2 separate regions of the Homo sapiens genome follow, and region 2 is linked to region 1. Evidence: promoter capture Hi-C in human tissues and cell types (Jung and others, 2019). All regions are on one chromosome and are shown on one strand. Each heading gives the region's core, a stretch centred on a gene start or on the middle of the fragment in contact. The rest is flanking DNA. Distances are from core to core; before and after follow the strand shown. Region 1 holds the start of CHCHD1 (coiled-coil-helix-coiled-coil-helix domain containing 1). Region 2 has its middle 10 kb from the start of PLAU.

Region 1 (4,934 bases), core at 2,279-4,778:
AAAGAATACCTTGGACCTTAGGGCTACTCTAGTTGTAATGTATTAGTGAGTTATCACTAGAGAAGTTCCACAGTTTAATATTATCTATACCTATATCTATATATCTACCTATATAGATAGATATATGTTAGATGCTTCAACAACTAGGGTCTACACTTAATATACTGACATCTAAGGATGCGGCCAAGAAAAGCTGTAATTAGGCTGAATTTTATTGCCAAAGTTGTTCTTTTTTCATTTAGTCCTTTAATAAAAGATGATCTTCATAAATTACAGAAAGTTTGCTTACCCTGTTTGACCTTTTGCAGAAAAGAACAAGAGGGAAGACAGACCTTCAGGCTGGGTGCAGTGGCTCATGCCTGTGATCCCAGCACTTTGGGAGGCCAAGGTAGGAGGATCGCTTGAGCCCAGGGATTCAAGACCAGCTTGGGTAACATGGTAAAACCCCATCTCTACAAAAAACAGAAAAAATTAGCTGGGCATGGTGTGTGTGCCTTGTAGATCCAGCTACTTGGGAGGCTGAAGTGGGAGGATCGCCACTGCACTCCAGAAACTAAAAAAAAAAAAAAAAAAAACCTTCAAAAATATATCTAAGCCAGATGTGATGGCATGGGTCTGCAGTCCCAGCTACTCAGAAGGCTAAGGCAGGAAGATCGCTTGAGCCCAAGAGTTTGAGGCTGTAGTATGCTGTGAGTGCGCCTATGAGTGCCAACTGGGCAACACAGTGAGACCTCTGTCTAAAAAAAAAAAAAAAATCTGTTGGGCTGGGTGAGCTGGCTCACGCCTGTAATCCCAGCACTCTGGGAGGCCAAGGCAGGCAGACCACCTGAAGTCGGGAGTTCAAGACCAGCCTGACCAACATGGAGAAACCTCATCTCTACTAAAAATACAAAATTAGCTGGGCGTGGTGGCGCATGACTATAATCCCAGCTACTCAGGAGGCTGAGGCAGAAGAATCGCTTGAACCCAGGAGGCGGAGGTGGTGGTGAACCAAGATCACGCCATTGCACTCCAGCCTGGACAACAAGAGCAAAACTCCATTTCAAAAAAAAAAAAAAAATCTGTTAAAATTTGATATAGTAGGCACTGACAAAAGAGGTCAAATGCAGGACTGATTTCTAAGCTTGCAATCTATCTAAATGCAGATGCTAATTTAGAGTGCATAATTATTACACAAGTACAGACCTAGGTTAGGGCTTAAATTTCATTATGTGCAATAAAAAGGTTAAGTGATGGTTAAGCAAGGTGTAGATTATCCTTACCTCTCCTAATGACATGGGCTCACATTGGCATTCCTTTCATACTTTTACGTATAAAGTGGGCAGTTGTTTCTGAATGACTGTTGCTGGAGCCTCAGGCCTGCTTTGTGCTTGGTGCTTTCCAGACTTTCTCCTTTATTCCTATCACCATATACGTACTCACAAAAGAGCAGTGTAAACCAGGTATTACATTTCCACAAGGGAAAGTAGAACCAGGAATAGCCACATGATACTTACCGAAAGCTTCACTTTCCCTATAGAGAAAGCAAGCAACATGAATCTTCTGATTTGGGGCCCAGCCTGCTGCTGTATACAGAGGTTGGCATTATTGGTGATAGAAATGTCTGATAGGAGTCTTTTAATTATACTCTGGAGTGTGGAGGTGGAGTGCAAGGCTGCTTCCTTTATTACTGCAAGTGTTATTTTCTATTATCTCAGGTTTCGTTTTGTGTAATAAACTGCTTCTTGTTAAACAATGTCTTCTGCTTCATTATTTTTTTGGGGGTGGGTGTAATAAAGTTGGAGATTTGTAAAAAAGTTTCAGGTTGGGTGTGGTGGCTCATGCCTGTAATCCCTGCACTTTGGGAGGCCAAGGAGGGAAGCTCACGTGAGCCCAGGAGTTCAAGAGTAGTCTGCGCAACATACTGAGACCCCATCTCTACAAAAAATAAAACCAAGCCAGCCGGGTTTGGTGGTGTGAGCCTGTGGTCGCAGCTACTCCAGCAGCTGAGGCAGGAGGATCACTGGAGTGAGGCCAAGGCTGCAGTGAGCTAATATTCCACTGCACTCCAACCTGGGTGACAGAACAAGACCCCAAATCCAAAAATAAATAAATAAATAAAACATTTGCTCATTTAACAAGTATTTATTGGTACTATTCTAGGCACTGGGGATTCAGCAATGAACAAGATAGACAACGTTCCTTCTTTCATGCTTACATTTTTAAATGGGTGTTAGGGATAGGTAAGGCCATAATAAGACAATTCAGACTGTGATAGGTGCTATGGAGAAAACAGGTTGATGGTGGTGAGGTGTGAGAGGTCAGGGAAGCCCTCTGTGACATGAACTGAGACTTAAGGGAAGAAAAATAAGCAGCCATGCAGAAATCAGTGGGAAGATTCCAAACATCTGTGATAAGTGATTTTTTTAACACACTAAATTTACAAATCCAAATGTTCTTCCTCCAAAGTAGTCATGAGCTACAGGCTTGTTTTCTGCTTCCATTACCAAAAACATTTCTTGGAGCTTATTTGGAAATGCTTTGAGAATATGCTGCACATCTTTGGAATGAGTTGTGAAAATGGCCAGAAGAAGTCACTTGAGAAACAAGTCTGGCTGGGCGCGGAGGCTCAGTCATGTAAAGCACTTTGGGAGGGCGAGGCAGGAAGATCGCTTGAACCCAGGAGTTCGAGACCAGCCCGGGCAACATGACAAAACCCCGTCTCTACAAAAAATAATTAGCTGGGCGTGGTGTCTTGCACCTGTGTTCTCAGCTACTCAGGAGGCAGAGGCGGGAGGATCGTTTGAGTTCAGGAGTTTAAAGCTGCAGTGAGCTATGAACGTGCCACTTGCACTCCAGTCTGGGCAACCAAGAGAGACCCTATCTCAAAAAAAATTCTGATTAAGCATCACAACTGAAGGTCCAAGTCTGTAAGACTGGCGAGAGGACTGAAAAAGACGATGAATGCCAAGTGTTTAAGCTTCATCCTACCAACTGAGATTGTTATAAATGAGCAAACGGTATCTAACTAGTAGCAGTAGTAGCAGTTGTTGTTGTTATAAAATGAAACAAGTCTAATTTTTCTTTGCGGCTTTGTAGTGGTCCTATAGGCAGTGAAAAACGACAGTTCTTTCAGGTTTATTAAAGTAAAACACGAATCTTTCCCAACCCAACATCTTAAAGTCTCAAATTTTGATTCGCCACCCCCCCCCCCAACCCCGCCCTATGCCAATCGCCCCTAGACCAAGCCGGCTACCACCAGAACAGTGTCCACTTACCAGGGCCCTTTCCTGCATGTCCCCGGCCCCGTACTGCCCCCAGACTTCGGGGCCCGGAGCCCATCAAGGAGAAGCCTCAGTCGGCGTACGAACCCAGAGTCTCCTCCTAATCTGCTGACAAGTATGAACCCGCCGCTGTTCGAACCCAGCGTCGCCGCAGCCCCGGCCAAGTAAAAGAAAGAGGTGGCTGCCAGCAAGCCAACGAGCCTTCCCCGAGCTCCGCGCCGATTCGTCCAGCCCGTAGGGGTCACGCGAGGTCACGCACGGAACCGCAAAGCCTGCCGGGAGCTTGGTGCGCTATGGCGACACCCAGCCTGCGGGGTCGTCTGGCGCGGTTTGGGAACCCGCGGAAGCCTGTGCTGAAGCCCAATAAACCTCTCATTCTAGCTAACCGCGTCGGGGAGCGGCGCCGGGAGAAGGGCGGTGAGCAGTCGGAGTCAGGACGGCCCCGGAGCGGAAGCCGGAGCATGAGCAGGGGCGGGTGGGTAGGAGGGCAGGAAGGTGGGTCTTCTTGTGACTGAAGGTCCCCCGGATCTGCCCCTCCAGAGGCGACTTGCATCACGGAGATGTCGGTGATGATGGCTTGCTGGAAGCAGAATGAATTCCGCGACGATGCGTGCAGAAAAGAGATCCAGGGCTTCCTCGATTGTGCCGCGAGGGCTCAGGTGACCGATGGCTCCTGGGGTGCTTTCTCAGGAAAAGAATGGGGGAGATAGAAGTAATGATTCTCCCTGCCTTTTGCTAGGAAAGGCCCTTTCATTCATTTGGGAGGTATATTATTCACGCCAAAGTGGGAAAGGTTACAGTTTTGAAGGCTGTGTGATCTTGACGGATTTATTCATTGCTCTGAACTTTCGAGTTACTGTACGTAAAATGAGGCTAACCAATACCACCTTAAAGAATGTTGTGAGTGTCAGATGAAGTAATGAATGGGAAAATCATTTTGAAAAATGTAAATTGCTGCTCAAGTAGACATTATTGTGTGAAATAGAACTAAAGAGACTAAAACTAAATAATGACAATAGTTTGGTTTCCTGTCTAGGCTTAATTGTTAGCTGAGATAGTAGCTTCTGAACATAGTCTCATTTGTAGGTCCCAACGCCCTTTTGTTGAAAAGAGGCTGACATAGATCTCTCCAGGCTGGTTAACATCTTCATGTGCTTTAGGGCATTGTGAGAACTATGGGCCTACATCAGGACAAACTTGATTGATTGATTGGTTTTTTGGGTCAGATCTTAAAAGTCTGGACTAGACAAACTGTAGAGCTGTCATTCTTGTATTTGTTTTGTGTTTTCAGGAAGCCCGAAAGATGAGATCAATACAGGAAACCCTGGGAGAGTCTGGGAGTTTACTTCCAAATAAATTGAATAAGTTGTTACAGAGGTTTCCTAACAAACCTTACCTCAGCTGAAAATGGACAAGTATTTTCAATGACTGAAATATAGCTTCTGACAACTATGCAGAGGCATTTTAGAGACATTGGCATTGCCATGCCCTCTTTGGAGGGTAGAAGAGGCAAAACACTTTTTTCACCCTTTGGAATCATAGTATGGGTAGAAGTTATGATTTATCTTGAAATAAAATCCTCTGAACAGAACTTGGCCTTTTGTTGTGAATTAGGTACTCTCTTCATTCTTGAGCCTCCCCTAGACCCTGGAAATTCTTTCCTTCCTGATT
Region 2 (5,607 bases), core at 2,915-5,414, 120 kb after region 1:
TTTTTTTGAGACGGGGTCTTACTCTGTCACCCAAGCCAGAGTGCAGTGGCATGATCATAGTTCACCGCAGCTTCAAACTCCTAGGCTCAAGTGATCCTCCCACCTTGGCCTCCTCAAGTACTGGGATTGAGGCCAGGCACGGTGGCGCACACCTGTAATCCCAGCACTTTGGGAGACCAAGGTGGGCGGATCACTTGAGGTCAGGAGCTCAAGACCAGCCTGGCCAACATGGTGAAACCCCGTCTCTATTAAAAATCCAAAAATTAGCTGGGTGTGGTGGTGTGCATCTGTAATCCCAGCTACTTGGGAGGCTGAGGCATGAGAATCAATTGAACCTGGGAGGTGGAGGTTCCGATTAGCTGAGATTTTGTCACTGCACTCCAGCCTCGGTGACACAGCGAGACTCCATCTCAAAAAGAAAATAAAGTACTGGGATTACAGGTGTGAGCCACTAAGCCCGACCACCAACACTTTTTCTTTTCTTTTTACTTTTGATAATAGCCATCCTAATGGGTGAGAGGTCATAGGTGAGATCGTTTTTGAACACAATACTCCAGATGCCTGAGTGTTTCAGGCTCCAGGGTCTGCTTCTCCCCCTGAGACCCCACCTCTCCCAGCTCTGAGAGCTGGTGTTTCCCTGTGGTGGCAAAATCACCCTTGCAGCTGAGCAGCCAACATGGTTCTTTCTCCTGCACCCTCTGGTTTCTTCCAAGCTCTGAAGAGCTGGCTATCTCTCTGCCTTCCACTTATGTAGGGTTGGACTGAGAAATAATACAGGCTCTAGGGAGAATACTGACTCTATTTCTGAGCCCACACTCTTCTGAACTTCTTTTTCCACATAGTCTTCCAGACCAGAGGCTACTGTGCTGACTCCATGGAGGCCAGCTATGGCTTTGACCTGCCACTGACCTCAGAACTAGAACAGCATCCAAAGTCTTGGGCAAAACTGTTTCTTGGTCCCATAAGGACCCAGGGGAACATCTTATATTGCTCTGGCTACAACCCCCATGCTATTTGAATCAGCCCCTTCCTTTGCTGAAGTTCATATCTGGGTTTAGGTCTCCAAGACAGACACTGGGTGTGGTGATTCACCCTGTCTAATCCTCATGACTCCTCAAGGGGAACTTGGAGACCTGGAATTTTGGTCAGGAGTCCCTGTTCATATTCCCAGAACCCAGGCTCTCTGGGGTAACATTTGTTTATGTTGTTTAATAGTTACATCCTCTCCATGGCCTTCTGATGTCAAGAGCAGGCCACGTCAAACCTGGCCCCCATGTTCATGTCAAAGCTGGCCCCTATGGGCTACAGACGTCCCAGGCTTTGCTTCAGCCCAGGCCTCACCCCCTTTGCTTACAAGTACCTGATGAAAATTTCTTTTTCTTTTAGCTGATTCTGTCTTCTGTGAAAGCAGGTGGAAAAGACGTTCTGCTGCATTCCACAGAAGGGAAAACAGGCATATGGAGGGAAGTGACTCAGCCAGGTTCATGGATGGAGTCAGCCACCAAGCCAGGAATGGAGCTCTATCCTCTGACTCTGAAACCACAGCCTTCACCACGGCAGTCACTCCTTTCCTCAAGAGGAAGCTTCAGCTCATGCTCGCAGATATGGCCTTTGGACTCAACAGGTGCTACTGGCATTGGGCAGTGGGGCTTTCTACCCCCGGTTCTTCCCACTCCAATCCAGGAGACTACTGGCCTTCAAATATGGATTTCATGGTACAGCACTTTAAAGGAACTTTCTAAGACTTCCTTTTTTTTTTTTTTTTTTTTTTTTTAGACACAGTTTTGCTGTTTCCCAGGCTGAAGTGCAGTGGCACCATCTCAGCTCACTGCAACCTCTGCCTCCCCGTTTCAAGTGATTCTCATGTCTCAGCCTCCCAAGTAGCTGGGAATACAGCCACCTGCCACCACGGCCGGCTAATTTTTTGTATTTTTAGTAGAGATGGGGTTTCACCATGTTGGTCAGGCTGGTCTCGAGCTCCTGACCTCAGGTGATCTGCCTGCCTTGGCCTCCCACAGTGCTGGGATTATAGGCGTGAGCCACCGTGCCAGGCCTCGAAGACTCTTTCTAAAGCAAAGCACATGACTTTCCAAGTTTGGAAAATCAAAAGCCCCTAAAGATAGGAAAGATGACAGCTGTACAAGTCCTCATGCCTTCCGTTGCACTCTCACTTCCTCTCTCGGAGTCCTCTCATTTCAATTCCCAATTCCATTACTGCACCAAGATTCTGGGGTTCATGCTCCCCACAGCCCAAGCACAGACAAATTTCAAATCACTGTCTTTTGCTTCCTATATTTCAACTGAGATTGATGGAGATTTTCAGTTTTACTAAACTTAAGCACACCCTTGCTCAAGAACCTGCAGTACCTTTCTGGAGTCTATGGAATCAAGTGCACACTTCTAGCTGCAGTAAGATCTTTTATAATCTGACCTCACTCTAGTTGAACTTAGCTCTCATGCAATGTAAACCTTCCCTAATCAAGCCAGACTTCTCACTGCTTGTGCATACATCTACACACACACACACACACACACAGAGAGAGACTTAAATACATACAGGTTTATTCTCCACAACACGTAAAAATGTTTATTCCTAGCTCCTGTCTCTTTCCAGGGGTCTTACCTGGAATTCTTGTTTCCTGCCCTCTGCCAATCCCAACCTCACCCATCTTTTAAGATTTGTTCATGGGTGAGCGCGGTGGCTCACACCTGTAATCCCAGCACTTTGGGAGGCTGAGGTGGGTGGATTACTTGAGGTCAGGAGTTTGAGACCAGCCTGGCCAACATGGTGAATCCCGTCTCTACTAAAAATACAAAAAGTGGCTGGATGTGGTGGTGTAAGCCTGTAATTCTAGCTACTCAGGAGGCTGAGGCAGGAGAAATGCTTGAACCTGGAGATGGAGGCTGAGGCAGGAGAAATGCTTGAACCTGGAGATGGAGGCTGCAGTGAGCTGAGATCATGCTACTGCACTCCAGCCTGGGTGACAGAGCAAGACTCTGTCTCAAAAAAAAAAAAAAAAAAAGATTTGTTCAGGAAGCCAGGCATGGTGGTTCATGCCTGTAATCCCAGCACTTTGAGAGGCCAAGGTGGGCAGATTGCTTGAGCTCAGGAGTTCAAGACCAGCTTGGGCAACATGGTGAAACCCCTTGTTCTCTACCAAAAATAGAAAAACTAGCCAGGTGTGGTGGCGGGTGCCTGTAGTCCCAGCTACTCAAGAGGCTAAGCAGGAGAATTGCTTGATCCTGGGAGGCAGAGGTTGCAATGAGCCAAGACAGCGCCATTGCACACCAACCTGGGTGACAGTGTGAGACCCTGTTCCCCTCCCCGCCCAAAAAAAAGATTAGTCCGGGAAATCTCTAACTTTAGTGTCTCCAGTCTCTGAACTTCTGCTGCGTTTGTGGCTGATAGGCTGCTTAATGATTAACAACTTTTACAAAAATCTTGGTAAAAATTACATAATATTTACCATCTTTATAATTTTTTATGTGTGCAGTTCAGTAGTGTTTAGTACATTTCGCTTGTTGTGCAACCAATCTCCAGAACCTTTTTTTTTCAAGACGGGGTCTCACTCTGCCTCCCAAAGTGCTGGGATTACAGGCATGAGCCACCGCGTCTGGTCCAGAACTTTTACATTTTGTAAAACTGAAGCTGTATACCCACCCATTGAACAATAACTCATCATTTCCCCCTTCCTCAGCCTCTGGCAACCACCATTCTACTTTCTGTTTGTATGAATTTGACTATTATATAAAATATAAGTAGATTTAAGTGGAATTATACAGTATTTGCCTTTTTGTGACCAGCTTATTTCACTTACTATGCTGTCTTCAGGGTTTATTGAAGTTTTAGCATGTGATGGGATTTCGTTCCTTTTTAAGACTAATATTCCATGTGTAGATATGCTGCATTTTGTTTATCCATTTATCTGCGTGGACATTTGGGTTGCTTCCCCCTCTTGGCTATTGTGAACAGTGCTGCTATGAACAAAGGTATGCAAATCTCTCATCAAGACCCTGCTTTTACTTCTATATCTAGAAGTGGAGTTGCTGGATCATCTGGTAGTTCTGATTTTTTGAGGAACTGCCATATATCAGCTGCACAATTTTACAATCCCACCAACAGTGCACAAGGATTCCACTCTCTCCACATGATCACCAACACTTGTTATTTTCTGTTTATTTTTTCTTTATAGTTGCCATCCTGTTTAAAGACTTTTTCATTGTTTCATGTAAATTCATTTTGTCTTCCTAACAGATTTCATGTGTCTTCAGGGCAGGAATCTTGCCCTGTTCTCCTGTGTACCCTCAGTGCCTAGCACCGCATGAGGCATGTCCTTAGGTGTCTGAAGGTCCTTTTTGGTTGATTGGATGAAATGAACAGTTTGAGTTGAGCTTAGTCCTTTTGAGAACTTAGGGTAGAATTCCCTTTACAAACAGAACAAGCTGACTGCTATGATACAGACTGAATGAATCTTCAGGACACTGCTGCACTGTGGAGCAAAGTCTGCATGGGGACAGTGTCACTGTCGCTTCCTCTTTGACTGAAGATGCAATATTGTGGTCATCACACAAGCTGCTGGGTCTACTCTCCCTGCAAAGCATAATGCTCTGGAAACCCAATTCTATGCAGGTAGAATCAGAAGACCTTAGAAATAAAAACAAAACCAAAAACTGACCTTGAGAAGCTCAGAGGAGGGCCAGTACGGGAACTGAGAGGAAACATCACAGATAGACAGGTACTAGTAGGTACAGCTATTCTCAACTCTGCTTTGTTCTAACCGCTACTTAATTTCCCTTCATTTTCCTGAGGTCTTGGGGAGCCAATTTTTTATTCACTGCTATGACTTTGAGGGTTCCTCTGGGTCTCCAAGCTCTTTTTTTTTTTTTTTTTTGGAGACAGAGTCTCACTATGTCACCCAGGCTAGAGTGCAGTGGCATGCTCTTGGCTCACTGCAACCTCTGCCTCCCGGGTTCAAGCAATTCTTGTGCCTCAGCCTCCTGAGTAGCTGGGACCACAGACGCATGCTACCATGTCCAGCTGATTTTTTTTTTTTTTAAATTTTAGTAGAGACAGGGTTTCACCATGTTGCCCAGGCGGTCTTGAACTCCTGAGCTCATGCAATCCACCTGCCTTGGCCTCCCAAAGTGCTAGGATTACAGTTGAGCCACTGCACCTGGCCTCCAAGCTCTTTTAGTCTATATGGAAAAGTCCCTCCACTTAGCCATTTGTTTGGCATTTAAAAAATAAAACTATCACTAGGAATCTAAAAAAAGAACAAGTACAAAAGTGCTGAAGCAATTAACTTTCTGAGAACAGATTCTCTAGAAAAGTCGCCTCGAGGTGGTTTGGTTGGCACAAGGCTCTCAGGTATACATCCCTTTCCTTGATTCATCCCTGTCTGGGGAATGCTGCCCAAAGACCTGCCTTGTAGTCCCGGGCCATCCCCACCTCTGTGTTCTCCTCCGGCCCCCATCTCAAAGGATGGGGTTGAAGTAGAAGCCCCAGTAGATAGATAGTTTGTAGTTTAGTTGGGTGAAAAAAATAAAACAACACTCCCTAGATATATGATGCATTGGCTGACATTTTCCCCACTTGTTTGGTGATGA

Evidence for each region. The method cuts DNA at HindIII sites, captures the fragments that hold promoters and counts their contacts. A contact is called where the count stands out against the background at its distance.
Region 2: a contact is called between a fragment that was not itself captured here and the fragment with the promoter of CHCHD1 in region 1, in 2 of the 25 tissues and cell types used here (lymphoblastoid cells and stomach).

What each region holds. Positions count from the first base shown.
Region 1 is chr10:73,778,520-73,783,453 of GRCh38, forward strand. CHCHD1 (coiled-coil-helix-coiled-coil-helix domain containing 1) reads left to right here and starts at 3,529. Exons shown (of 3, transcript NM_203298.3): 1 at 3,529-3,680; 2 at 3,804-3,922; 3 at 4,555-4,934. The coding sequence starts at 3,557. The coding sequence ends at 4,668. It overlaps LOC107984243 (a long non-coding RNA gene), which reads right to left and starts at 3,434. Exons shown (of 2, transcript XR_001747500.3): 1 at 3,258-3,434; 2 at 2,110-3,083. It also overlaps a transcript of POFUT4 not described here. RefSeq lists enhancers at 3,170-3,479, 3,600-3,739. The HindIII fragment of the contact is 10,203 bases long and covers 2,231-4,934 here.
Region 2 is chr10:73,898,065-73,903,671 of GRCh38, forward strand. No RefSeq gene overlaps it. Among named protein-coding and RNA genes, the nearest start is that of PLAU, 10 kb to the right of the region's middle. The HindIII fragment of the contact is 7,043 bases long and covers 644-5,607 here.